Linked DNA regions of Homo sapiens: all the other regions are linked to region 1. The links are contacts of gene promoters, found by promoter capture Hi-C in blood cells and fetal thymus (Javierre and others, 2016). All regions are on one chromosome and are shown on one strand. Each heading gives the region's core, a stretch centred on a gene start or on the middle of the fragment in contact. The rest is flanking DNA. Distances are from core to core; before and after follow the strand shown. Region 1 holds the start of NUDT16L1 (nudix hydrolase 16 like 1). Region 2 overlaps DNAJA3 (DnaJ heat shock protein family (Hsp40) member A3). Region 3 holds the start of PPL (periplakin). Region 4 overlaps NMRAL1 (NmrA like redox sensor 1). Region 5 holds the start of LOC105371064 (a long non-coding RNA gene). Region 6 overlaps HMOX2 (heme oxygenase 2). Region 7 overlaps HMOX2 (heme oxygenase 2).

The links. Contacts are between HindIII fragments. The CHiCAGO score rates a contact against its expected background, and 5 or more counts as called.
Region 2: a fragment that was not itself captured here is called in contact with the fragment with the promoter of NUDT16L1 in region 1 in 3 of 17 cell types (monocytes, neutrophils and M1 macrophages); the score reaches 6.7 in monocytes.
Region 3: the fragment with the promoter of PPL here is called in contact with the fragment with the promoter of NUDT16L1 in region 1 in 5 of 17 cell types (megakaryocytes, M1 macrophages, M2 macrophages and 2 more); the score reaches 7.6 in megakaryocytes.
Region 4: a contact is called between a fragment that was not itself captured here and the fragment with the promoter of NUDT16L1 in region 1, in 1 of 17 cell types (neutrophils). The highest score is 5.0, in neutrophils.
Region 5: a fragment that was not itself captured here is called in contact with the fragment with the promoter of NUDT16L1 in region 1 in 1 of 17 cell types (erythroblasts); the score reaches 7.6 in erythroblasts.
Region 6: a fragment that was not itself captured here is called in contact with the fragment with the promoter of NUDT16L1 in region 1 in 7 of 17 cell types (neutrophils, M2 macrophages, erythroblasts and 4 more); the score reaches 7.4 in neutrophils.
Region 7: a contact is called between a fragment that was not itself captured here and the fragment with the promoter of NUDT16L1 in region 1, in 3 of 17 cell types (neutrophils, erythroblasts and M1 macrophages). The highest score is 6.1, in neutrophils.

The regions. Positions count from the first base shown.
Region 1 is chr16:4,691,499-4,695,134 of GRCh38, reverse strand. It overlaps NUDT16L1 (nudix hydrolase 16 like 1), which reads right to left and starts at 1,573. Exons shown (of 3, transcript NM_032349.4): 1 at 1,256-1,573; 2 at 897-1,157; 3 at 1-177. The coding sequence starts at 1,408. RefSeq lists enhancers at 1-43, 646-1,153, 1,154-1,661, 1,913-2,002 and silencers at 753-1,252, 1,363-1,722. The HindIII fragment of the contact is 13,448 bases long and covers 1-3,636 here.
Region 2 is chr16:4,443,469-4,447,104 of GRCh38, reverse strand. DNAJA3 (DnaJ heat shock protein family (Hsp40) member A3) reads right to left here. Exons shown (of 12, transcript NM_005147.6): 7 at 2,377-2,441; 8 at 91-219. Among named protein-coding and RNA genes, the nearest start is that of DNAJA3, 19 kb to the right of the region's middle. The HindIII fragment of the contact is 654 bases long and covers 1,640-2,293 here.
Region 3 is chr16:4,935,128-4,938,763 of GRCh38, reverse strand. PPL (periplakin) reads left to right here and starts at 1,616. Exons shown (of 22, transcript NM_002705.5): 1 at 1,616-1,780. The coding sequence starts at 1,719. RefSeq lists a silencer at 1,274-1,673. The HindIII fragment of the contact is 7,029 bases long and covers 1-3,636 here.
Region 4 is chr16:4,460,011-4,463,646 of GRCh38, reverse strand. It overlaps NMRAL1 (NmrA like redox sensor 1), which reads left to right. Exons shown (of 6, transcript NM_020677.6): 6 at 1,688-1,953. The coding sequence ends at 1,867. Among named protein-coding and RNA genes, the nearest start is that of NMRAL1, 13 kb to the left of the region's middle. The HindIII fragment of the contact is 653 bases long and covers 1,061-1,713 here.
Region 5 is chr16:4,914,572-4,918,207 of GRCh38, reverse strand. All of the region lies in intron 1 of PPL (periplakin), which reads left to right. LOC105371064 (a long non-coding RNA gene) reads right to left here and starts at 3,145. Exons shown (of 4, transcript XR_933028.3): 1 at 2,417-3,145. The HindIII fragment of the contact is 7,303 bases long and covers 1-3,636 here.
Region 6 is chr16:4,478,798-4,482,433 of GRCh38, reverse strand. All of the region lies in intron 1 of HMOX2 (heme oxygenase 2), which reads right to left. LOC124903636 (a long non-coding RNA gene) reads left to right here. Exons shown (of 3, transcript XR_007064964.1): 2 at 555-670; 3 at 2,873-3,170. Among named protein-coding and RNA genes, the nearest start is that of HMOX2, 4.2 kb to the right of the region's middle. The HindIII fragment of the contact is 5,105 bases long and covers 1-3,636 here.
Region 7 is chr16:4,496,888-4,500,523 of GRCh38, reverse strand. All of the region lies in intron 1 of HMOX2 (heme oxygenase 2), which reads right to left. Among named protein-coding and RNA genes, the nearest start is that of HMOX2, 22 kb to the right of the region's middle. RefSeq lists a silencer at 1-216. The HindIII fragment of the contact is 2,942 bases long and covers 413-3,354 here.

The DNA of each region.
Region 1 (3,636 bases), core at 324-2,823:
CTCGGTGGCTGCAGCCAGGGCCTCAACCAGCTTCTCCTCGGGCATCATGTTGAGCACCTTGAGGGCAAAGAGGAGCTGGCACTTAGCCGTGCTCACGAAGGCGTTGCTCAGGAAGTTGGGGAAGCCTCCGACTCGGTCCTTCTGGGTGTACAGCGGGACCCGCACGAGGCCCAGCACCTGCGCAGACAGGAGGTAGGGGTTGGGGCCAGGCCTGCCACACAATGGCACCTCCAGCAGGAGGGGCCTGGAAGCTATGAGGCCAGGGTATGAGCAGCCAGCTTTGCCAAGGACTTAATGGGAGACCCACGCAGGGCCTGGCAGAAGCCAGCCAGCTCCCTCGGAGCAGTGCAGCCCCCTCCTCCCCAAGCAAGTGTGGAGGCTGACCCCATGCACTCCCCCCCCTCGTACCCAGGCCACCCCACCCCGGGGTCCGCACCCCATGCTCCCCCCGTCCACCCAACGAAGCCTGAACACCCGCAGTCCAGCCCTTCCAGACCACAAAGTACAAATCCCAAGAGCCTTCACGCCCAACATGAGGTTCCCAAGTTTTACAACCCCCGCTGTGCTCAAGTTTCCCAACTCCCCAAGCAATCCCCGCTCCTCCCCCATCCCTTCCTCCCCACCGATCCCACTCCCCCACTCCCAGGATTGGCAATGGCAGGCAGCAAGGCGGATGTAACACAGCCCTGAGGGAGCCCCAGCGCCGGCCCCCACCCCCGCCCCTCCTTTCCCGGCCTCCCAGCCCCAGACCCCTCTCCCCACCCCATTGCTGGAGACAGCGACACCCGACCCAGCCCGGCCAGGGGACCCTCAGGAGACGTGTTACCCATCGGTGCCTTCCACGGGGCCAGAGCCAAACCCCGGGGCGGGGGGCGGGGCCCGGGCGGCGGCCCCACCTCCAGGCCGTGGTCGCGCGAGTGCACCGCGCTGATCTCCACGGCGTGCAGCTGCTCCAGCGTCAGCTGCCGCGCGTACAGGTGCGCCACGACGCGGTGTGGGCCCTCGGTCAGGTGCGAGCTCAGGTAGTCGGCCTCGGTGAGGCGCAGGCAGCCCAGGCCCAGGCCCAGCACCCGGTTCAGGCCGTCCTCCAGCGACCAGAAGCGCCGGTCCACGAAGCCCCCGGGGAAGCCCAGCAGCCCGTCGAAACGCATCTGCATCTGCAAGGGAGCGCGGGTCACAGCCGCGGGGTCGACGGACGCCCCCGCCCGGGCCCGCCCGCGCCGGCACCCTCGCCCGCGCCCTCGCCCGTCCTCACCAGCACCGAGAAGCGCATGGGGATGCGGCCGAAGAGCTGCCCAGGGTTGGCGGCGTACAGCATGGCGTGGCACGAGTGGCTCCAGCCCGGCCCTAGGCGCATCGCCTCCACCCGGCTGATCTGCTTCAGCTCCGGAACCGCCGCCGTCGACATCTTGGCACTGACCCCGTCCCCGCCGCTGCCACTTAAGAGCATGCGCGAGCCCGCCCCCGCCGTGCCTCGCCAATCCGCGGGCGGCCGCGCCCCCGGGTCCGGTTCCCCCGCCAATCGCCGGCGCGCCCCGGGACCGAGCCCCTCGCAGCGCCGCGGTGCGTCGTCGAGAGGTGCTGCGGGCGGTGTGCAAAGGAGGGCGGTGCGCGTCAGCCGTCACCCAATAGTCGCACACCCTGGGCGGCGGCCCCGCCTCCGACGGGAGAGCCTAGACGACTGGTCGGTGCCGTGGTGGCTCAAGGTTGACATTGTGGGCGACGAACATCTTCCTTGGCGCCCCAAAGCGGACAGCCGAAATTCCCTGCGGTTTCTCCACCCTCGATGGCGCCGATCCCCTTGCGCCCACCCGTTTCTCCCCAGGAGGCCGACCCGGCCCGCATGGCCCCGTCCATCCGCAATGGCACCCTTGGCACGACCACACGAGCCAGAGATGCCCCGGAGCCTTGCTCCGCCAGCGCCACCGGACCCAAGCCCGGAGGGAGATGGCCTTCGCCTGCCATGCACGACAGCTGTCCCGACCTAGCCACCCTGCTGGCAGGCTCGATCCAGGACAGCACGGGGAGCAGGGCTTGGCAGGGCTTGAGTGCCCCAGTCCCCGAGTCCACGCTGGGTCAGGGCGGACGACCGGGAGCTCTGGGGCTCTGTGGACCCAGCTTGCTGGGCAGAAAGTGACTTAAATTCCGGGGCTGGACCTTTCCAGCATCCTCCAAGCCGGGCACCCTGTGCCAGGTACTGTGGGGGGAAGAGGGGTTTCCCCAATTTACGATGAGGAACTTGGAGCTCAGAGAGGGACATAACTTGCCTAAGTACAACTGGCAGTTGATGACAGAGGCAGAATCCCGATTCCACAAGGGCCTGAGGTACTTACCACTTACCTTGTGTTTGTACTGGAGATGTCTCTGGGGCTCAGAAGCATCCGAAACAGCCCAAGGCAGAGCGAGGTGCCCTGAACTCCATGATGGCAAGGCTCACCTCACCAGCAGCAGGGCCCAGGGCCACTTTCCTCCCCACCAGGGGAATGGATTTGCTGAGCACATGAACCCCCCTGCCTGCACTCACAGCATGGGTGCCCAGGGCTGGGGCACAGCCTCGGGAGAGCCGTGCAGTGAGGCCGAGCTCGCTGGCACAGAGAAGGCTGCCTTCAGTGGAGGCAGGCAGGAGAAGAGAGAGGGAGAGGGTGGGCATTGGAAACTCACCTGTTAGGTCCGTGGTGGCCTCAGATGTGGAGAATAAGGACCCAGAGAGGGCACCTCTCTCTCCTCCTGTGGCCACCAGTGGGTCAGGGGTCACATGGGACAGCTGCAAGCAGCAGGGGAAGTCCAGATTCCAGAGTGAGCGACCATGTGAGAAGGCGAGAGGGCAGCGAGGGGAAGGGTCCTCTCACCCAAAGAGGGCCCCACCCCTAGGCAGCCAAGCCCAGCCAGCGCCCAGGGCCCGTGGGACGCAGGGGCAGAGGAGGAGAGGCTCCCCTTGCTGCAGCCCCTCCCCGAGACCAGACATCAATACAAGCGCTGGCTCTTCTGGGAGGTACAGAGGGGGAGCCCATCTGGCCCATGCAAGCACCCGTCTGACACCCTGGGCACCCCTCTACCCACACTGGGATGGGGCCAGACCCAGGCAGGTCAGAGCAGCTGCAGGGCCCATGGGTGGCAGCCTTCTCGGGGCAGGGACTGATGGGCTAGAACACGGGCTTTCCCTCCACCCTCACAGTCTTCAAAGAAGGGCCATGGTGGCAGCTTGACCTGCACGCAAAGGAGCTGGGGCCCTGAGTGGTAGGCAGTGGTGTGGTGGGTGCCCTGGGGCACTGGCCACTCCCTGGGCAGGGGAGCGGGGGCTGTGCAGAGGCCTGGGGCCGGGCTCCAGCCTGCGAGCCCACAACCATGGGCAGCTAGACCTGCTCCCACCGTCCGGCCTCCACACGCCAGCCGCAGGGTGCTAGCACTGCTTCTCCGCTTGGAAGCCTGTTTTTAAAACTGACTCCCCCTTATAAAAACACTCCAGCAGCCCCTACAAGCTCTTCAGTATCTATCCAGCACCCTTCACTCCAGCCAGGGGCTCCGTCCCCAGGGGACACATCAGGCTCACTCCTGCCACCTGGAACACTCTTCCAGGGCCAGCTCCTCCTCAGCCCTCAGGGCTGTTTAAGTCTCCTCAGAGAGGCCCTCCCTGCC
Region 2 (3,636 bases), core at 717-3,216, 250 kb after region 1:
TGGGTTCCAGGCCACTGGTCAGTTCTTTTCCATTTCAGAAAAAGAGCAATAAAGTACAGGGGTGACAAAGGTGTTCTCACACCCTCTTACCGTCACGTTGATCGTCTCGTACAGGCCCTGGGCTCTGGCTGTACCCCCAAGAAGAGCCTGAGCTATAGAAATAAAGAGGTCGGAGTGGATGTCTGCGCCGTCCCTCCGGAACACAGGGCTTTTCTGCACCTAAGGCCAAACATGACAGATGCATGTGAAGATAAGTCCACTGCAGACTAAACACCAGCTGCATGCCTGGCCAGGCCCAAGCTCAGACCTGACAAACTACACACCCCTTCCATACATAAAGTGCAGTGTTGAGGGAAAGAACTGTCCTTCCAACAAGGAGACACCATCCCAGGCCCAGGAATGACATGTTCTACATATTTCAACACTGCAATGTTCTACACACTTGAAATGCCGAAATGGAAGCGTGCCTGGATTTCCTCAGTCTCAGATCAAGCCATTCAATCGTGAAGGGAAACAAAAATGTAAAACTGGCTTTTGATTTTTTTTTTTTAATCTTACTTTAGCCAGGCACAGTGGCACACACCTGTAATCCCAGCACTTTGGGAGGCCAAGGTGAGTGGATCACCTGAGGTCAGGAGTTTGAGACCAGACTGACCAACATGGTGAAACCTTGTCTCTACTAAAAATACAAAAATTAACCAGGTGTGGTGGCGGGCCCCTGTAATCCCAGCTACTCAGGAGGCTGAGGCAGAAGATCCACTTGAACCTGGGAGATGAAGTTTGCACTGAACAGAGATCACACCACTGCACTCCAGCCTGAGCAACAGAGCGAGACTCCACCTCAAAAAAAAAAAAAAAAAAATCTTACTTTATTAGAAAGTATAGGCCAGCCGTGGTGGCTCACGCTTGTAATCCCAGCACTTTGGAAGGCTAAGGTGGGTGGATCACCTGAGGTCAGGAATTCGAGACCAGCCTGCCAACATGGTGAAACCCCATCTCTACTAAAAATACAAAAATTACCTGGGTGTAGTGGCGCATGCCTGTAGTCCCAGCTACTCAGGAGGCTGAGGCAAGAGAATCGCTTGAACCTGGGAGGTGGAGGTTGCAGTGAGCTGAGATCATGCCACTGCACTCCAGACTGGGCAACAGAGCAAGACTCTCTTTCCAGAAAAAAAAAAGAAAAAAAAGGGAAGAGTAAATAATATAACAAGCATGTCATACCCACAACCCAGTGGAGGTAACAAAATATCACAGGCCGGGCGCAGTGGCTCATACCTGTAATCCCAGCACTTTGGGAGGCCAAGGTGGGTGGATCATTTGAGCCCTGGGGTTTGAGACCACCCTGGGCAACATGGTGAAACCTCATCTTTACTAAAGATACAAAAGTCAGCCGGGCCTGGTGGCGTGTGCCTGTAGTCCCAGCTACTCAGGAGGCTGAGGTGGGAGGATCACCTGAGCCCAGGGAGTCTGAGGCTACAGTGAGCCAAGACTGCCCCACTGCATTTCATCCTAGGCAACAAAGCAATACCCCACCTCAAAAAATAAAGTAAAATAAAATAAAACATCATAAACACCGGTGAGTCTTGCCCTCCTCAGCTAACCACAACCCTGACTTTAACATTTATCATTCCTACAAGCTTCTACTTACTATGTATTTCCGTGTCCCTAAATAATACATAATGCCATCTCACAGGTTTTAAAACTTTACACAGATGGTCTCTGAGGCCCTACAGCCACTGGCAAGCTGCCTTCCATCCCTGCTGTCTGTACCTGCAACGCCTGGAGCATCCCTTGAGTTCAGCTCTCATTCTTTCCTTCCGACTGCCCTGCAGCAGCCTCTGACCACCACGGCTCACTGAGCCATTCTCTTGTTGGAGGAAGGCAGTGTCTTGCTACCATGGACAGGACTCTTGTGCACCCCTTTGTACCTATCGCCTGCTAGGCTTGTGTGGGTTTTTCTCAGGTGTACACATAGGAGGGCAATTGCCAGTAGAAGGCATTGTCTTCATTAATGTTTCCACCATCTCAGAAAACCAAGGTTTGCCCCTGTATACAGTATGTAAAATTGTAACTTTCACACTCACTGCCTCATCAACAATCTTATCATAAAAACACAAGATGTTTCCTGTATTTTTATGTGACCTGTATTTCTAACTTGTTAGCATGTTGAAGAAGTTGTCTTCTCTCCACACAAGGCACAGAATCTTGAAGGTAACAAACAGCTAAAAACCACATCTAGGTGGCCACTGTGCCCCTCAGAAACATGAATGGCGAGACATGTTCCTGTGAAGCTTTGATTACATGGGAGCAGCCTCAGCCACACCCACCCGAAGAGAGGAAAGGCCCAACAGAAGCTGTGCGGGGCAGGGCACCTACCCTGAACGTAATGAAAATTTCCCTTTTTCCCACAGGCATCCTCACGGTCTGGCCATCCTCGACTCCTACAAGGGACATTAGAAAGGGAGAAGTTAGGCAGGACGCGGTGGCTCACGCCTGTAATCCCAGCACTTTGGGAGGCCGAGGCGGGCAGATCATGACGTCAAGAGATCGAGACCATCCTGGCCAACATGGTGAAACCTGGTCTCTACTAAAAATTAACTGGGCGTGGTGGCACACGCCTGTAGTCCCAGCTACTCAGGAGGCTGAGGAAAGAGAATCGCTTGAACCCAGGAGGCGGAGGTTGCAGTGAGCCGAGATCACTCCACTACACGCCAGCCTGGCAACAGAGCGAGACTCCGTCTTAAAAAAAAAAAAAAAAAGAAAAGAAAAAGAAAAAAAAGAAAGGGAGCAGTTATTGTGAGACCTCCCACAGCACTTTCCACCCAAGATCCACTTGTAACCCACAGCTTCTTCCCCACTCCTGTTTCTTATTAACGAGGAACAATGTCATTATCTAAGAGGCACATGGGTAACCTTCCAGAGATGCAACACAGACACCTGATGACTGAGCACCTGCCTCAGGCTTGGTCTAGGCAGTACCTCAGGGAGTTCATGGTCTCACTGGGGTGATGGGTGTTAACCAAACGATAGCACTAATGCATAACTACAAACAGAGACATGCTCTTCAATGGAAATGCTCACAACTCTAGAGAAACAGACATCTAAACAACAGTAAAGCAGGCCACGCGCGGTGGCTCATGACTATAATCTCAGCACTTTGGGAAGCCGAGGCGGGTGGATCACGAGGTCAGGAGATCGAGACCATCCTGGCTAACACGATGAAACCCCGTCTCTACTAAAAATACAAAAAATTAGCTGGGTGTGGTGGCAGGTGCCTGTAGTCCCAGCTCCTTGGGAGGCTGAGGCAGGAGAATGGCATGAGCCTGGGAGGCAGAGCTTGCAGTGGGCCGAGATCGGGCCACTGCGCTCCAGCCTGGGTGACAGAGCGAGACTCCGTCTCAAAAAAGAAAAAAAAAAGAACAGGGAGGAGGGTGTGAGGCTAGCTAGGGAAGGGATACTCAAGCTGGGATCTCCAAGATGAATAAAGTTAACCGAAAAAAGAAAGCAGAAAGTGAGTTTTGGGCAAGGGAACAGTAGACATGGAGTGAGGGGTGGGATCCGTGGGGCTGATGTAGATAGGGTGGCAGCAGGGACAATGATGGCTTCGGTGACTAAGACAGGGGAGAGAGGAGAGGA
Region 3 (3,636 bases), core at 367-2,866, 240 kb before region 1:
CACACACATTTTGAAAGCAACTTTAGGGCTGGGTGCAGTGGCTCACACCTGAAATCCCAGCACTTTGGGAGGCCAAGGTGGGAGGACTGCTTGAGCCCAGGAATTCAAGACCAGCTTGGGCAACACAGCGAGACCCCATCTCTACAAAAAACATATATAAATATAAAGGTTTTAAAAATTAGCCAGGCGTGGTGGTGGACACCTGTGGATCCAGCTACTCGGGAAGCTGAGGTGGGAGGATTGCTTGAGCCCCAAAAGTCAAGGCTGCAGTGAGCTATGATTGTGCCAATGCACTCCAGCCTGGGCAACTGAGTCTCAAAGAAGAAAGAAGAAAGAAAGCAAGAAAGCAAGAAAGGAAAGAGAGAGGAAGGAAAGAAGGAAGGCAGGCAGGCAGGCACAACTTTAGGAGGAATCACACCTCTATTTACGCCTAGTGGTCCATTATTGGAACGTGACGCCTGTGGGAGTTATCTCCTACTGCTCAAGGTCACTGCCAAGGTATGATTTATCAATTCAAAAAATTGCAACCTCAGGCATAAATGGGTTAAGCCCACCCATAGAAGCCCCATTAAGAATAAGGTTGGCTGGGCACGGTGGCTAATATCTGTAATCCCAGCACTTTGGGAGGCTGTAGGCCGGCAGATCACTTGAGCACAGGAGTTCAAGACCAGCCTGGGCAACATGGTGAAACTCTGCCTCTACAAAAATTTTTAAAAATTAGCCAGGTGTGGTGGTGTGTGCCATCCGGGCTTCAGGTCAGATTAGGTTTCTGTCTAAGGGCAGCCTCCTCCACTGGCACACAGTCTGGGCCAGGACATGCTGGCAGAATTGTGCAACGTCGTTGTTCTGAGCCGCAATCGAGCAGCTTTTATGACCAGCTATGAAGCGCTCTTCTAGTGCCAGGGCCTGGAGTTATTGAAGTTTCAAAGGAGTTTTTGTCCACCCGAGATGGCAAGCGGAGAGCAGATTCAGGCCAGGGCACTGCGCTCAGCGCTTTGCGTGCATTACCTGCAGGGACATCCCCACAGGCCTTTCGGATGGGGTGGTGGTTATCACCGTTTGACAAAGAAGTAAACTGTGGCTGGGAGCAGTAAAACACCTTGCCCAGGAGTGTCAGCCAACCTGGGGGTGGCAGGGCTTGAACTCAGGCCGGCGCCCTCGGCAGTTCAGCCCCCTTCCCTCAATTGCCACCATCTGAGTGCAATTCGCTAGCTACTAGGGCACATGAATCCGTGCGGGTCTCTGCCGCACCTGTCTTGCGGGGCCCAGCTGGGTGTCCGCCAAAGCACCAGGAGCGCCGAGTTCCGCGGTAGCGCAGAACCAGGTGAAGGCCTCGGCCAGAGGCGCGCCGGGCCCGAGGAGGGTGGGGCTGCGAGCGCTCGCCCCGGCGGCCTTTGCGCCCCAGTGCCTGCCCGGCCTCCGGAGTCCCCCGGCTGGGGGTGGGCGGCGTCCGGCCAAGACCCAGTGTCCCCACCCCCGCGTCCAAGCCCCGCCCGCGCGGTGGCCCCTCCTCGGGAAGGTAAGCACCACCTTCTCGGGGAGCGGCCCGCAGAGCCAGTGGCCGGCGGGCGCCCCGCCCCCAGCGAGTAGGGACCCGGAGCCACTGCCGCGCCGCAGTCCGGGCTCCCCGCGCCGCCGCTCGCTCACCTGCGCTCCCGCCCGCCCCTCGGTGCGCGCCCGGCCCGCCAGCCGCCGCCGCCCGCACCCCGAGCGCCACCATGAACTCGCTCTTCAGGAAGAGAAACAAAGGCAAATACAGCCCCACTGTGCAGACCCGGAGGTGAGGAGGCGCCCACAGCTCCGCTCCGGGACGCTCTTGCCCCTGTGGGCGCACAGGACCTGGAAGACCTCCCGGGCAGTGTAGGAATGGGGGGTACGGGGGTCCAGGAACCGGGAACTGAACCCGGAGTGCGGGACTCTCGGGAACGCGGGACCGAGGCCACCCTGAAGCTGGGAAGCGCCGCCAGGTGGGAAGGGACTGGCTGGGGTCCCCGAGGGGGAGCATAACACAGGGGACTCCGGGAGCCCAGGGAGCATTGCCTTGAGGGCCTAGGGCACGGGCAGCTGAGCTGGGGGTACAGGGCACCCCCGTGTCCCAGGGTCGCTCTTGCGCAGAGGGTCGCACAGGACCGGGAATAGTCACCTGGATGAGGGGGCGGAGTTTTTGGAGGACCGGGCACTCAAGGCGGGGTCGCTGCGGGCGACCCAGGAAGCTCCGTCCAGGGGGCGCCCTGAGGCAGGGAAACTGAGCTGGCGTCGGGGGGCGCTCTCCAGCGCCTCTGAGACCGCGCAAGTGTTCCTGGCGTCGGGGAGGCGAGGGATGGGTGTCCGGAGGGGGCGGGCCACCCGCCGCTGCACTTCCCGGCACCTGCCACCCTGCGCGCCAGAGCCGCGCCCGGAGGCCCTGGGGGGTGTGGGGTCGGGTCGAGGGGCACAGGGGGAGGCACCCCCTTACCTCCCCACCCTCTGGGTTCTGAGCGGAGGTTGGGCGGCTTCGGGGCCTCCTCTTCGAAGCTCGGTTTCGCAGGGGTGTGGCTCCCTGCCCCCACCCCAGCCCCGAAACTGGCGGCGTCTCTGAGCCGCGGGTTCCCAGGGCGGCCTGGGAGGGGAATGGCATGTCTTGATGTGTTTGCAGGGAGAAGCAGCCCACGTCCCTTTTGATAAGCCTAATGTGTTCACTTAATAACCGGTTTAGGGGAGCCTGGTGGAGATGCTGAGATTGACGGAGGGGGTGGGAATCCAGCCCCTGCCTTATATCCCCACTTCGGAAAATAGAGTGGGGGCTCTGGGCTAGCAAGGACCATTTTGCCAGCTTCTCGGACAAGAGGCTTCAGGCAGGTGAGGGGCCCGCACATTACATGGCTCTCCTGTCTGGGAGTTCTGCCCCCAAGCTGCTCTCACTGGGAGCCCCCACTGTGCCCTCAAGCAGCTCCTCACTTCTTCCCTAGGCAAGGAGAGGCCTCTGGGCCCAGGGCTCCCACTCAACCCCTGCAGTCCGGCCTAGGCCGACCAGTCGGACAGGTGCAGGCGGCGGGGCCCTAGCACGCTGGAGTGCGACACTCCATTCCGGGGCCTTCCAGCCCTTTCAGAAACCCCCCTGCCCTGTGATCCCACCCACCCGTATCTCCGTTTGGGCTCTTTCAAGCTCAGAGGCATTACCCGCCTTTAGAGATTTCCCCACCCCTCCCCTATCTTTCACAACCCCAGAGACTGGGCAGGGCCTGCACACCCCTCCTCCATGGCTGCGTCCAGCTGGCACTCAGACCCAACCAGAGGCCCGTCCAGTCCCTGCACTGTTCCCTGGGGCATTGCACAATTGGATGCTCCGTGCCAGCCGTGGAGAACCGTTCTGTCCTCTCCACCCCAGAGACTAGACCCATCCAGTCCTTCACACATGCAGACACCCACATACCAGTGGTGGGGCCAGGCCTCGCCCCGCCCTCTGCCTCCTCCCAGCCTCCCTCCTTCGTGCAGCTCTCCATCCTGAAGGCCCCAGCTTGGACCTAACAAAAGGTTCTAATGAACCCAGACAAGCTGGGAGGGGTGCGGGCTTTCCCAGAAGCATGAGGATGAAAGGCATCCCATCCTTTATAGCTGCAGGGACTGGGAGGGTCTGGGGTGGCAAAGATTTGGGGT
Region 4 (3,636 bases), core at 138-2,637, 230 kb after region 1:
CCCAGGTGACTCAGGCATCCTTGTCAGGGCTTTCTAGCTCCCGTAGGGAGGGTGTGTCCAGGGCTGCCCACACCTCTGGGCAGTACATCTAAATTCATTCGTTCATCGTCAACGTTTATTTTCTGCTGTTCCAGGAGCTAACTGGCCACAGAGTGAAATTTCTGGCTTAGATGTTTTGACCAAATAGAGAGAAAAGCTTCCAGGAGGAGAGGGCCATAGGAGCCAAGGCAAGGAGGGGTGAAAATGCAGGCCCTGCCGGGCTCCTCTGTGGGAGGGAATTTGAAGAGAAAAGAGTCTGGAAAGATAGACCCGACCCCTCCCCTGTGGGAGGGGATTTAAAGGGAAAGAGGCTAGAAAGATAGGGCCGACCCCTGCCCCCATTGGCCTGGCTGGGTGGGCAGGAGGCCTACTGGACAGACTCTTGGGTACCTGGTTTCTAATGTTTGTCATTACCATTAGGAAAGTAAGACATACTCATTAAAGAATCTGGGAGGCTGGGTGCAGTAGCTCACGCCTGTAATCCCAGCACTTTGGGAGGCCGAGGCAGGTGGATCACCTGAGGTCAGGAGTTTGAGACCAGCCTGGCCAACAGGGTGAAACCCCATCTCTACTAAAAATAAACAAATTAGCCGGGTGTGGTGGCAGGCGCCTGTAATCCCAGCTACTTGGGAGGCTGAGGCAAGAGAATCGCTTGAACTCAGGAGGCAGAGTTTGCAGCGAGCCGAGATGCCACTGCACTCCAGACTGGGCGACAGAGCGAGACTCCAACTCCAAAAAAAAAAAAGAATCTGGGAAACACTGGAGTCCTTAAAAGACGAAAGTTGGGTCAGGCGCGGTAGCTCACACCTGTAATCCTAGCACTTTGGGAGGCTGAGGCGGGCAATTACAAGGTCAGGAAATCGAGACCATCCTGACTAACACGGTGAAACCCCGTCTCTACTAAAAATACAAAAAATTAGCCCGGCGTGGTGGGCCTAACTCCTGGGCTCAAGCGATCCTCCCACCTCCACCTCCCAAAGTGCTGGGATGACAGGTGTGAGCCACTGTGTCTGGTCAAGCTTTGGTTTTTGAGAAAGAAAGTGATGCAGGCAGGTCTCTGATTTGGAAGGGACTGAGATATTTTCGTCTCATGATCTGAAAATAATAGTCTTTTTATTTATTCATTTTTGAGACAGGGTCTCACTCTTGTTGCCCAGGCTGGAGTACAGTGGGGTGATCTCAGCTCACTGCAACCTCCACCTCCTGGTTTCAAGCGATTCTCCTGTCTCAGCCTCCTAAGTAGCTGGGATTACACGCACCTACCACCAGGCTGGCTAATTTTTGTATTTTTGAAAGAGACGGGGTTTTATCGTGTTGGCCACGCTGGTCTCGAACTCCTGGCCTCAAGAGATTTGCCTGCCTCAGCCTCCCAAAGTGCAGGGATTACGGGCATGAGCCACAGCATCTGGCCAAGAACAATCTTTAAACTGATCTACAATGTCAGGCAGCTCAGGAGAGCAGCAGTTTCTGAACTTTCGGCTCTTAGAAGTTTTCAAATGACCTTGTACGGAGGACCTGGGTCAGGGACCGAGACAATAGTGGCTCTGGGTGTAGCAGGTCGGGAGACCCCAGCCCATCCGGCCTCCCTGCCCCGCCACCTCCCGGGGCACTGGAGGACGCCGGCCACGACAGGCTCCTCTGCTTCCAGATGACTCCTGAGGACTACGAAAAGCTTGGCTTTCCCGGTGCCCGGGACCTGGCCAACATGTTCCGTTTCTATGCCCTGAGACCCGACCGTGACATCGAGCTGACCCTGAGACTCAACCCCAAGGCCCTGACGCTGGACCAGTGGCTGGAACAGCACAAAGGGGACTTCAACCTGCTGTGACCTGCCCGCCTCGCGGCCCCTTGTGGGGATCGGGGGCACCAGAGGGGCAGAGGCACCAACATCTGAATAAAGCCATTGTTCTCCCAGATGGCTTCCAGGAGAAGAGGACTCTGCTTCCAGGACTTGGGTTGGGGTGGTAGTTGTGTACCAACACAACAGTAAGTGGTTGGGGAGGGTCCGGGGCTGTACCAACACAGCAGTAAGTTGGAGCGGGGGGGGGGGGTCCAGGGCTGTACCAACACAGCAGTAAGTGAGGGGACCCGGGGTTGTACCAACACAGCAGTAAGGGGTGGCTCCAGGGCTGTACCAACACAGCAGTAAGGGAGGGTCCAAGGCTGAAGGGATCACTTGGTGACTGGGACGAGTGACCTAAACGTGTTTAGTCAGACAGGTGTGAAGTGGCCTGTTCTGACCTCAGCTAGCAGAACAGCTCTGACCAGCAGCCTCTGTTCCCACATTTGAAATTCATTCACAGACGGGGACATAGCACAGGACACAGAGGAGCCCCAGGAGCCGAGCTTCTGACACACCCCTTTCATCTCCAGAGCTAGTGAGGCCATCTGCACATGTGAACTGGAGACAGGCTCTGCAGGGAGGCGGGGGAGATATGGGCTTCTCCCTTTCTCTCCTCATCCTTGTCCTGGAAGGAGCCGGCCTTGGGGTACCATCCTGGACACAGGTGAACTTCAAACAGGTTGGAAAAAGGAAAATCGGATGTGGCAGAGCTGTGGTCCACAACGCACAGTAATTGGACACTGCTGGGAAGCAAAACTGAAGGAGAAACAACCCACCTTGCTTGCTGGGGTGGGTCACAGAGAAGAGGGTCAGAGGCCGAGAGACCAGTTATTTGCCTGAGAGTTTGTGGTCCATGGCAGCTCCGATTTTTTTTTTTTTTTTTTTTTTTGAGACGGAGTCTCCCTCTGTCACCCAGGCTGGGGTGCAGTGGCACGATCCCAGCTCACTGCAGCCTCCACCTCCTGGGTTCAAGTGATTCTCCTGCCTCAGCCTCCCGAGTAGCTGGGATTACAAGCATGCACCATCACGTCCAGCTAATTTTTGTATTTTTAGTAGAGACGGGGTTTCACCATATTGTCCAGGATGGTCTCGATCTCTTGACCTCGTGATCCGCCCGCCTCGGCCTTCCAAAGTGTTGGGATTACAGGCATAAGCCACCGCGCCTGGCCAATTTTTTTTTTTTTTTTTTTTTTTTTTAAAGAGTCAAGGTCTCGCTCTGTTGCCCAGGCTGGAGTGCAGTGGCACAGTCATAGCTCACTGCAGCCTTCACCTCCCAGGCTTAAGTGATCCTTCCACCTCAACCTCCTGAGTAGCTGGGATTATCGTACAGGTATGAGCCACTGAGCCCAGCAGTTCTGTGAATTTCAATTCAACACATTTAGGTTTGTGTGACTACCATCACAGTTTTTATTTTTTTACTTCCCCACCCTGGCTCTGGCACCCCCAGGCACAAAAATTCATTCTATCCATTGACTGAAGCATTTCTTTGACAATTTACCAGTATGCTGGGCCCTAAATACAATGTAGCAAAAAAAGTTATGCTGCCTGCCTTGAGGAGCTTATATTTAGTGGGAGAGCCTGATAGAAACACACAATAAATAGTTATGTATCTACGCCTGTAATTCCGGCACTTTGGGACGCTGAGGTGGAGGATGGCTTGAGTTCAGGAGTTCGAGACCAGCCTGGGCAACATAGCAAGACCCCATCTCTACCTAAAAAAAAGAAATACAAAAGAAACTAGGGCCAGGCGTGGT
Region 5 (3,636 bases), core at 785-3,284, 220 kb before region 1:
AATTCTTCCACCTTAGCCTCCCAAGTAGCTGGGATTACAGGTACCTGCCATCATGCCTGGCTAATTTTTGTGTTTTTAGTAGAGACGAGGTTTCACCATGTTGGCCAGGCTGGTCTTGAACTCCTGACCTCAGGTGATCTGCCCGACTCAGCCTCCCAAAGTGCTGGGATTACAGGCCTGAACCACCATGCCCAGCTGCCTTTTTTGTGTTTTTTTTTTTTGTAGCAGCTTTACTGTGATGTAATTCATATATCATCCAGTTCACTCATTTAAAGTGTTCAGTTCAGTGTTTTTGTTTTTGTTTTGAGACAGGGTCTCACTCTCATTGCCCAGGCTGGAATGCAGTGGCGAAATCTCGGCTCACTGCAGCCTCAACCCCCTGGGCTCAAGTAATCCTCCTACCTCAGCCTCCCGAGTATCCAGGACTACAGGTGTGCATCACCATGCCCAGCTAATTTTTTGTATTTTCAGTAGACATGGGGTTTCACCATGTTGCCCGGGCTGCTCTCAAACTCCTGGTCTCAAGCGATCTGCCCACCTCGGCCTCCCAAAGTGCTGGGATTATAGGTGCGAGCCACCACGCCCAGCCCAGTGGATATTAATATAGTCACAGAGTTGTACAGCCATCCCCACGATTGATTTTAGAACATTTTTATCACCCCAAAAAGAAATCTGATACCCCTTAGCAATCACTGTCCATTTTACATCCTCCTGGGCCATGGCAACCACTCATCCACTTTCTGCTCCTGTAGATTTCTGCATTCTGGACGTTTCTTATCAATGGAATAATATGTGAGCTTTTGTGTCTGGCTTCTCTCACTGAGCATAACATTCTCGAGGTTCCTGAGGCTGTAGCAGCTGTCAGTCCTGCCTTCATTCTTTGGCCGAATAATAGAGATAGACCACGTTTGGTTTATATTTTCATCAGTTGATGAATATTTGAGTTGTTTCCACTAAAAAGTGGAGGCCAAAAGGCTATTATGAATCATGCTGCTGTGATTCATCTATGTACAAGTTTCTGTGCAGGCATAGATTTTTTTGTTTTTTTGTTTTTGTTTTTTTGTTTTTTATTTTCTGAGATGGAGTCTTGCTCCATCACCCAGGCTGGAGTGCAGTGGCGCCATCTCAGCTCATTGCAACCTCCGCCTCCCAGGTTCAAGCGATTCTCTTGTCTCAGCTTCCCGAATAGATGGGATTACAGGCACATACCACCACGCCCAGCTAATTTTTTTGTACTTTTAGTAGAGATGGGGTTTCACCATGTTGGCCAGGCTGGTCTCGAACTCCTGACCTCAGGTGATCCACCTGCCTCGGCCTCCCAAAGTGCTGGGATTGCAGGCGTGAGTCACCGCATCCAGCCCAGACATAGGTTTTCATTTCTCTTGGATAGATATGTAGGGGTGGGCTGGGTGCAGTGGCTCACGCCTGTAATCCTAATATTTTGGGAGGCCGAGGCAGATAGATTGCTTGAGCCCAGGGGTTCAAGACCAGCTGGGGCAACATGGCGAAACCTCCCTCTCTGAAAAAAAAAAAAAATTAGCTGGGCACGGTGCCAGGCGCCTGTAGTCGCAGTTACTCGGAGGCTGAGGTACAAAGATTGCTTGAGACTGGGAGGTCAAGGCTGCAGTGAGCTAAGATTGCACCACTGCAGTCCAGCCTGGGCAACAGAGTGAGACCCTGTCTCAAAAAATAATAAGGCTGGGCGCAATGGCTCACACCTGTAATCCCAGCACTTTGGGAGGCCAAGGCAAGTGCATCACCTGAGGTCAGGAGTTCGAGACCAGCCTGGCCAACATGGCAAAACCCCGTCTCTACTAAAAGTACAAAAGTTAGCCGGGTGTGGTGGCACACACCTGTAATCCTAGCTACTCGGGAGGCTGAGGTAGGAGAATCATTTGAGTCTGGGAAGCGGAGGCTGAGTGAGCCGAGATCATGCCAGTGCACTCCAGCCTGGGCAACAGGGTGAGACCCTGTCTCAAAAAAATAAATAAGTAATAAAAATAAAAAAAATACGTAGGGGTGGACTTGCTGGGTCTTATGGTGACTGCTTAACTTTTTGTGGAATTTCTAGACTGTTTTCCACAACTGTACACCATTTTGCATCCCCACTAGCAAGGCACGAGGGTTCCAATTTCTCCACATTTTTGCCAACACTTGTTATTGTCTTTTTTATTATAGCCATTGTAGTGGATGAAAAGTGGCATCCCGGTGTGGTTTTGGGCTCTTGGCATTTTAAATTAATCTGTGAAGTACCTACTGTGTGCTGGGAGCCCTGTAAGATCGTCACATGGAATTGTTAAGGGCCTAGAGTCCTGGCTCTGCCATCTAATTGCTGGGTGACTTTGGGAGAGTTATTTAACCTCTCTGATCCTCAGTTTCCACACCCATAAACGGGGATAATAATACAATTACCTACCATGCTAACACCCAGCTCTCAGGGTTGTCATGAAGATTGAGTCAGAAACAGTGAGGAGCCTGGCACGTAGAGAGTAAGTATTAGCTCATATTACGATGGTGGAGATTGTTATTGGTGTGATTTTCCTAGCATCCCCATGAGTAACTTCTAGCCCAGTCGATCACATGCCTCTGGAGTGAGATTGCTTGCGGGGAGAATCGCGGTTCACCAGCTGTGTGACCCTGAGCAAGTGCTTTGATGTCTCAGAGTCTTGGTTTCTTCATCCCCTTCTTCAAAGGGGCACACCAACCTCCCCGGGGACTTAGGGCAAGGATGATATTGAGCTGGTGCCTGTGAATATGTCTGAGGTCTGGCAAAGCCCACAGCAAGTGGCAAATGCCCAGGATGCCTTTGTGGTCATCGCCAGAGGACAGATGGAGAAGCGGAGGCTGTACGAGGGTAGGGCACTTGCCTGAGGCTGTCTAAGCAGCAAGCAGCCCAGTGGGCCTTGGGCCTGGCCTGTCTGCTCATAGCTTCCTGCTACCGCTCACAGCTTTGTCCCATCAGGAGTCCAAGGTCCCTGAGGCAGTGGTCATTGCCCCACAACTCCCATGTCCTCTGGGGGGCTTCGGCTGGAACAACAGGCCCAGCCAGGATAGAGTCCAGAAGGTGGCTTTTCTTGCATCTGCCACAATCCATGAAAGGGCTGGTTTGGGAGCTGGCCCTGTGCCTGAGGTGGGACTGGGCCCAAGAGAGACAAAGGCCCCCACTTGAGCCACAGTACAGACCCTAACGATGCACTGCAGAGTCAGGGGTTAAATATTTGGGGTGAGACTCACCGCCTCTAGGTGCAGCTGGCCTGGCAGATGGTCAGTGACTGGGGTGGGAGTGTGGGGGCCCAGAAACTCACATTCTCCATGTGGCCTGCCCAACCAGGAAGTGGGGGGTTAGGGAATGAGGGAGGAGTCGGGTGGACCCCTGACCTGGCTGTTCTAGAAGCCCACCTTATCCCTTCTTACCGAGATCCTCCATCCAAAGCCCCCCACTGCTAAGCCTTCCTGGCCACCCCGCCAAACACTGGCTTTCTCCACTGCAGGACTTGTCAGTGCCTTTGCTGGCTCATGAACATATCAAGGATGGGGTTTTCCTAAGTGCCTTGACCAAGGAAGAATAAGACTTGTAAGAGTTGGGTTCCTGGGACCCCACTTTGGGACAGGCTGCCCCCAGTTGACCTTGCAGAA
Region 6 (3,636 bases), core at 640-3,139, 210 kb after region 1:
TGGGGAAACAACTCCCATATATCTGGTATCAGAAGTGTTGTGTTGAGTGACTGTGGGAACAGAGTAGAAAAAAGACTTTGGGTTTTTTTGCCTTTCTCAAATAACCAGAAGAGCCACAAGCAAAGACAGAAAAGCATAACCTACAGCAGCTAGTTTCTCAGAACAGCATATTTTTCCCCTTCTGGGTCCACTTGCCTTTTTATAAACACAAAAAGTCTTACAGAGCAGGACAAATATGACACTGAACACAGACATTTGAAAATTTTGCTGAGATTGACAAATTCTCAAGTATATGGTAGAGGAATGGAGTTTTTTAAGTTATTTTCTAATTACTGGGATACCTGCTATTACCAAGCCAACCGAAGGCCTGACTTTCCCTCTGCCTTCCTACATAAAAAGAAGAGAGTAAAGGTTTAATGTCTTCTAGGTAGAAGTTAGATGACCACCCAGGCCACACTTCACCAAGTTTGCTTTTTCATCTGCCGTCAAACACTACTATCCACACTCAGCTTTGCTCATTTATTCCTTCCCTTCTCCCTCCTGCCCTCCTCCAGACTGCCACAGAGATAGTTCAAGGTGACAATGGCTCCTCTGCAGCAGCACATAGCAGTCTTGCCAGACACAACAGCAGATCAAGTAACTACTGAAGATGATGGCTACACTTGGACAGGTGACATTACATTATCATCAACAAACATTTATCACCCTCTTGAGTACTGTGACTACAAAGAAAGATAAGATCTTGCTCTGCACGTCAAGTACCTTTCAATCTAGAGAGAGAGTTAGGTGGAAAAATAAAAAGATAACATAAGGTGTACCATTCTATAAATATTAATTGTGCAATACAGACAACTGTGCTAAAGATAGAGCTTTATGTACCCGACTTTCCAGAACAATTCTGATTTCAAATACCCTGTTCCACCCAATTCTTTCAGTACACCTGTATGCTCAATGACAGGTGTTTCGCATAAAAATTATGATCATCACAGCTACTTATGAGGCCAGCCAGTCAACTAGATTAACTAAAATCAGGATGGCATTATAATGCCAGATTGTTTTATTTTTTTCTTTTTTTTTTTTTTTTTGAGACGGAGTCTCGCTCTGTCTCCCAGGCTGGAGCGCAGTGGCGCGATCTCTGCTTACTGCAAGCTCCGCCTCCCGGGTTCCCGCCATTCTCCTGCCTCAGCCTCCCGAGTAGCCGGGACTACAGGCGCCCGCCACCATGCCCGGCTAATTTTTTTTGTATTTTTTAGTAGAGACGGGGTTTCACCGTGTTAGCCAGCATGGTCTCGATCTCCTGACCTCGTGATCCGCCCGCCTCCGCCTCCCAAAGTGCTGGGATTACAGGTGCGAGCCACCGCGCCCGGACCAGATTGTTTTAATCACACTAGTACCTTCTTGCAGCCTCAGCACAGTGCTTTAATAGTAGGCCCTCTATCTCAGACATGAAAACATGAGCAAAAGCAAAAATACGAGGCCTGGCCGGGCGCGGTGGCTCACGCCTGTAATCCCAATGCTTTGGGAGGCCGAGGTAGGTGGATCACCTGACATCAGAAGTTTGAGACCAGCCTGACTAACATGGTGAAACCCCGTCTCTACTAAAAATACAAAAAATTAGCCAGGCGTGGTGGCAGACGCCTATAATCCCAGCTTCTCCAGAGGCTGAGGCAGGAGAATCGCTTAAACCTGGGAGGTGGAAGTTGCAGTGAACCAAGGTCACACCACTGCACTCCAGCCTGGGTGACAAGAGTGAAACTCTGTCTCAAAAAAAAAAAAAAAAAATAGTAGGCCCTTAGCCGGGCACGGTCGCTCCACCTCTAATTCTAATTGGGAGGCCAAAGTGGGTGGACCACTTGAGGTCAGGAGTTTGAGACCAGCCTGGCCAGCATGGTGAAACCCCGTCTCTACTAAAAATACAAAAATTAACTGGGTGTGGTGGCACACACCTGTAATCCCAGCTACTAGGGAGGCTGAGGAAGGAGAATCACTTGAACCCAGGAGGCAGAGGTTGCAGTGAGCCGAGACGGCGCCACTGCACTCCAGCCCTGGTGACAGAGCAAGACTCTAAGGAAAAAAAAAAAAAAAAGGCCGGGTGCTGTGGCTCACGCCTGTAATACTAGCACTTTGGGAGGCCAAGGAGGGTGGTTCGCTTGAGGTCAGGAGCTGGAGACCAGCGTGGCCAACATGGCGAAACCCCATCTCTACCAAAAGTACAAAAATTAGCCAGGCATGGTGGTGCATGCCTGTAGTCCCAGTTACTTGGAAGGCTGAGGCAGGAGAACTGCTTGAACCCCAGAGGCAGAGATTGCAGTGAGCTCAGATCAGATCACTGTACTCCAGCCTGGGTGAAAGAGCCAGACTCTGTTTCAAAAAAATAAAAAATAAAAAATAAAAAAGCCGGGCGCAGCGACTCATGCCTATAACCCCAGCACTTTGGGAGGCCAAGGTGGACGGATCACCTGAGGTCAGGAGTAGGAGACCAGCCCGGCCAACATAGTGAAACCTCATCTCTACTAAAAATACAAAAATTAGCCAGGCATGGTGGCATACGCCTGTAATCCCAGCTACTCAGGAGACTGAGGCTGGAGAATCGCTTGAACCCAGGAGGCGGAGGTTGCAGTGAGCTGAGATTGTGCCACCACACTCCAGCCTGGGTGACAGAGCAAGACTGTCTCAAAAAAAAAAAAAAAAAAAAAAAAAAAAAAAATAGAATAAGAAAAAGGCAGGCTGGGTACAAGATACTAGTCTGTTATGCCATTCTTCCCCACAGCCTTTTTAAAGTTACTGAGAACTATGACAGTAATTAGGCCTATAATACTCCTGGGAAGGAAACGAATCTATCTGTGAAACAAAAATTAATTTTTTCCCTAAGCTGAGTGAAGAGAATATCCACTTTGTTGGCTTCTGACATACACACTGACAGCACAGTTCACCAGACAACAATCACTCTTCTGGCGTCCCTTTCCCCAGGTATTCTATTCGCTTACTGCTCTATCTTCCCTGCCAGTCCACTCCCTCCTCTTTCCAGCCTGTGCCTTAGACAAGGACCCCAAACAAGGATCACCTGGGAAACTCCAAAAAACAGATTCCTAGTCATAATCCCAATTTTACCAAAAAAGAAGCGTTTGGAAACCCCTTAGATCGACAAGCAGCATCCAAAGACACCAAAAACTTAGGCTCATCAAGTATTAACTTCCTGCCTCAGCCTCCCAAGTAGCTGAGATTACAGGTATGTGCTAGCATCCTACTTATTGTTCACTCTGATAGAATTTTTTTTTCTTTGAGATGAAGTTTTGCTCTTGTCGCCCAGGCTGGAGTGCAATGGCATGATCTTGGCTCACTGAAACCTCTGCCTCCCAGGTTCAAGCAATTCTCCTTGCTCAGCCTCCCGAGTAGCTGGGATTACAGGCTACTTTTTGCAAGGCTAATTTTTGTATTTTTAGTAGAGACGGGGTTTCACAATGTTAGCCAGGCTGGTCTCGAACTCCTGACCTCAGGTGATCCACCCGCCTTGGTCTCCCAAAGTGCTGGGATTACAGGCGTGAGCCACCGCACCCAGTCTAGGTCAAGTTTTTCATCTCTTTCCTTTCCAAGGAGTTAAAGCTGAATTTCAAATTTTACAGTGAAATACACAAT
Region 7 (3,636 bases), core at 634-3,133, 190 kb after region 1:
GCACCGAGAGTAAGCAACAGCAGACTGACTCACTCCCTGGAATGAGAACAATTCTGCAGGCTTCTGACTCAATGAAATAGTGACACTTGACAGTGACCAGCTACTACACTGCATGAGATGCCCACAACATGAACTCGGGTTGTTACCCCACAAACACAGGGAGGCTAAGTGGCTGCTCAGAGACTTCTGCACTGGGACTCCACGAGTGCTCCCTCCCTGCTGAACACCTTGCAGTTGGGCATCAGGATTCTTACCATCACCCTGGATGGGGGTCCCCTGCCTGCTTCCTAGAAGGCTGTTTGCAGCTCAGAGCTCACTCCGATATAAAATTGCCACCATATTAATATGAGGTGATTACGCTTCAGCTTCCACAACTGACTGTCATCCTGTCTTCCCAGTTAAACCAAAAGCTTCCTACAAGAGAGATCCAGATTCCCTCAGATTCAGATCAGGGTCCAATATGACTTATAGGCCAGCACCCTGGGGAGCATCCAACCTGAGTTACAGCTGTTGCAAATACACAGATGGAGTTCCTACTGAGAAAGCCAGTTAAATAGAGGATTTGTGTGCCTGTGCCTGTGTGTGTAACAAGAAAATAACAGCTAAATTCTAAAATACCAAGTAAAGTAATACAAATTTTTAATTGGGTCCCATGTCTCTAAATTAACTGTATGAAATCTGTTTTGACTTCTCTTCAGATCTGACTTGACTCCTAAGTTTTTAACTGACAATTATATTTATGGGGTACAGTGTGATGTTTGGACACATGTATACATTGGGGAATAATTAAATCAGGGTTATTAACATATCCATCAGCTCACATGCTTATCATTTCTTTGTGGTGACAACTTTTAAAATCCACTCTTTTACCAATTTTGAAGTATACAATACTATTATAATATTAACCATATTAACTATAGTCACCATGCTGTAAGGCAGATCATCAGACCTTATTTCTCCTAACTGAAATTTTGTACCCTTTGATCAACATCTCCCCTTTCCACACCCACCCTTCCCTTCCCCCAGCCGCTGGTAACCAACATGTTACACTCTCCTTCTATAACTGACTTTTTCAGATTTCACATATAAGTGATATCATGCACCATTTGTCTTTCTTTCTTTGGCTTACTTCACTTAGCATAATGTCCTCTAGATGCATCCATGTAGTCACAAATGACAGAATTTCCTTCTTGTTTATGGTTGAGTAGTATTCCATCGTGCATAAATACCAGCTTTTAAAAATCCATTAATCCACTGTGTGCTGCGAAGACTAAGTGGGCTAACACGCATGAATGTTTGACAAAATGCAGCACCACCTCAAATATTGAGCTCTTACTGAGGAAGTCGCTGGTGAGAATGAGCAATTGGGTGATTGTTAAACACTGAGGAAGAACAAGAAATCCAGCAATTTCAGATAGTTCTGGGCAGGTCACACCTGAGGACTTCTGACTCAGACCTCATTCTCCAGCAGCGTCAGGAAATAGGAATATCTGCCCTTTCTAAGGTGAGCCACGTGAGCACTGGAGGCTAGAATACCCACATTGCAGATGCCACTGGAGATTGGCTGAGCCACATGTTTGGGGCAGCAGACAGAGCTCAATCAGTTCTAATCCAACAAGGCACGAGATAACAGAGACTTCTCAACACCCTGAAGAAGCCACATCATCTAGAACTACAGCTTCTGAGTTTATAGAATAAATGGCCTGAGGTCTCCTCTGAACTCTGGTACTACCATTCCTCAGGAAATGTTATACATAAGCCCTTTCATTTCAATCGCTGGGGGAATTCAATCCCACGGTTCACTGAACGGAAGAATAAATATTAACCTCTTGATAAAAGAGCAAATCCAGGCTGGGTGCAGTGGCTCACACCTATAATCCTGACACTTTGGGAGGCCAAGGTGGGAGGATCACCTAAGCCTAGGAGCTCAAGACTAGCCTGGGCAACACAGTCAGACCTTGTCTCTACGAAAAATAAAATAATTAGCCAGGCGTGGTGACACACACCTGTAGTCCCAACCACTCGGGAAACTGGGGCAAGAGGATCTTTTGACCCCAGGAGTTCAAGGATGCAGTGAACTATGATCACACCGTTGCACTCCAGCCTGGCAAGGGAGTGAGATGCAAAAAAAAAAAAAGAGCAAGTTAAGACTGAATCCAGCCGGGTGTGGTGGCTCATGTCTGTAATCCCAGCACTTTGGGAGGCCGAGCGGGTAGATCACCTGAGGTCAGGCATTCAAGACCAGCCTGGCCAACATGGCAAAACCCCATCTCTACTAAAAATATAAAAAAATTAGCCAGGTGTGGTGGTGTGTGACTCTAATCCCAAATACTTGGGAGGCTGAGGCACGAGAATTTCTGGAACCTAGGAGGTGGAGGTTGCAGTGAGCCGACAGTGCCACTGCGCTCCAGCCTGCACAACAGAGCAAGACTGTGTCTCAAAAAAAAAAAAAAAAAAAAAAAGACAATGAATCCTGGAAAAGTGGGGACTCTGGGGACACAAAGCACTTGAGTCAGATTACTAAATAAGCACTTGCGCATTTGGGCAAGAAGGCAGGCAAAAGCAAAACAACTGCAAACTAATTTAAAGGCATTAACCTCTTAAGTAACCTCAAAAACTGACAAGAGACCGGTTGTGGTAGCTCAAGCCTGTAATCTCTGCACTTTGGAACTCTGAGGCAGAAGGATCACTTGTGGCCAGGAGTTCAACACCATCCTGGGCAACAAAGTGAGACCCCCTCCATCTCAAAAAATACATTGAATAAAAAAGACAACTGAATAGCAGTTCAAGAAGTCCAAGACTTTTCTTGCAGGCTTTTTTACTGGAGAAGAGAAGTGTGCTCATCTCTAGCCATGTTCAAATACAACTGAGCAAGCAGTGAAGACAGACACCAAGGACAGAACCTGAGACACTGAAATGAGTTCAAAGAAGGGGCCTGGAATCGACTATTGTTGGGACAATGATGAGTCCTGGTAGAGCCTTCCTATTATAACTGAAATAAGCACAAGACTCGCCCCTGTTCCCTGATTGCCACCTCGCTTTATATGAGGACAATGTGTCCCAGGGCTGAGAAGATGAGGATTCTTTAGTTCCATAAGCAGCACCAGGAGCGGGAGGGGTGAAGTCCTGAGTGAATTCTAAAATGGTTCTGGTGGGATTTTTACAGGGACAGAGGCTAGACTTCATGCATCCCACAGGGCTGGCTTTAACTAATGAAACCTTGGGTCATCCCTAGGTTACCATCAAGCAAAAATTATTCCAACACTGAACAACCTTGAAAGCAGGTGTCGTGTGGATAAGTGGAGTCAGTCATGTTTCCTTTCATACAGGCACAAAAATTGTCACCTGTAAGCTTCAGCTTCTATCATAAACAAGGACTGTGAATAGCATTTGGGGGTGGAGGGAAAAAAAGTAGGTGATTAAGATGCATATGCAGAACTGTCATTTTGGGAAACCTGAGAGTGCCATCAGCTCCCAGGTGCTTTCCTCTCTATAAACAGCCTGAAGCCTTAGAAGCCATTCCTGGAGGCTGGTACTGGTAGCTCACACCTATAATCTCTGTACTTTGGGAGGCCGAGGCTGAAGGATCACTTGAGTCCAGGAGTTTGAGACCAGCCTAGGAAACATAGTGAGACC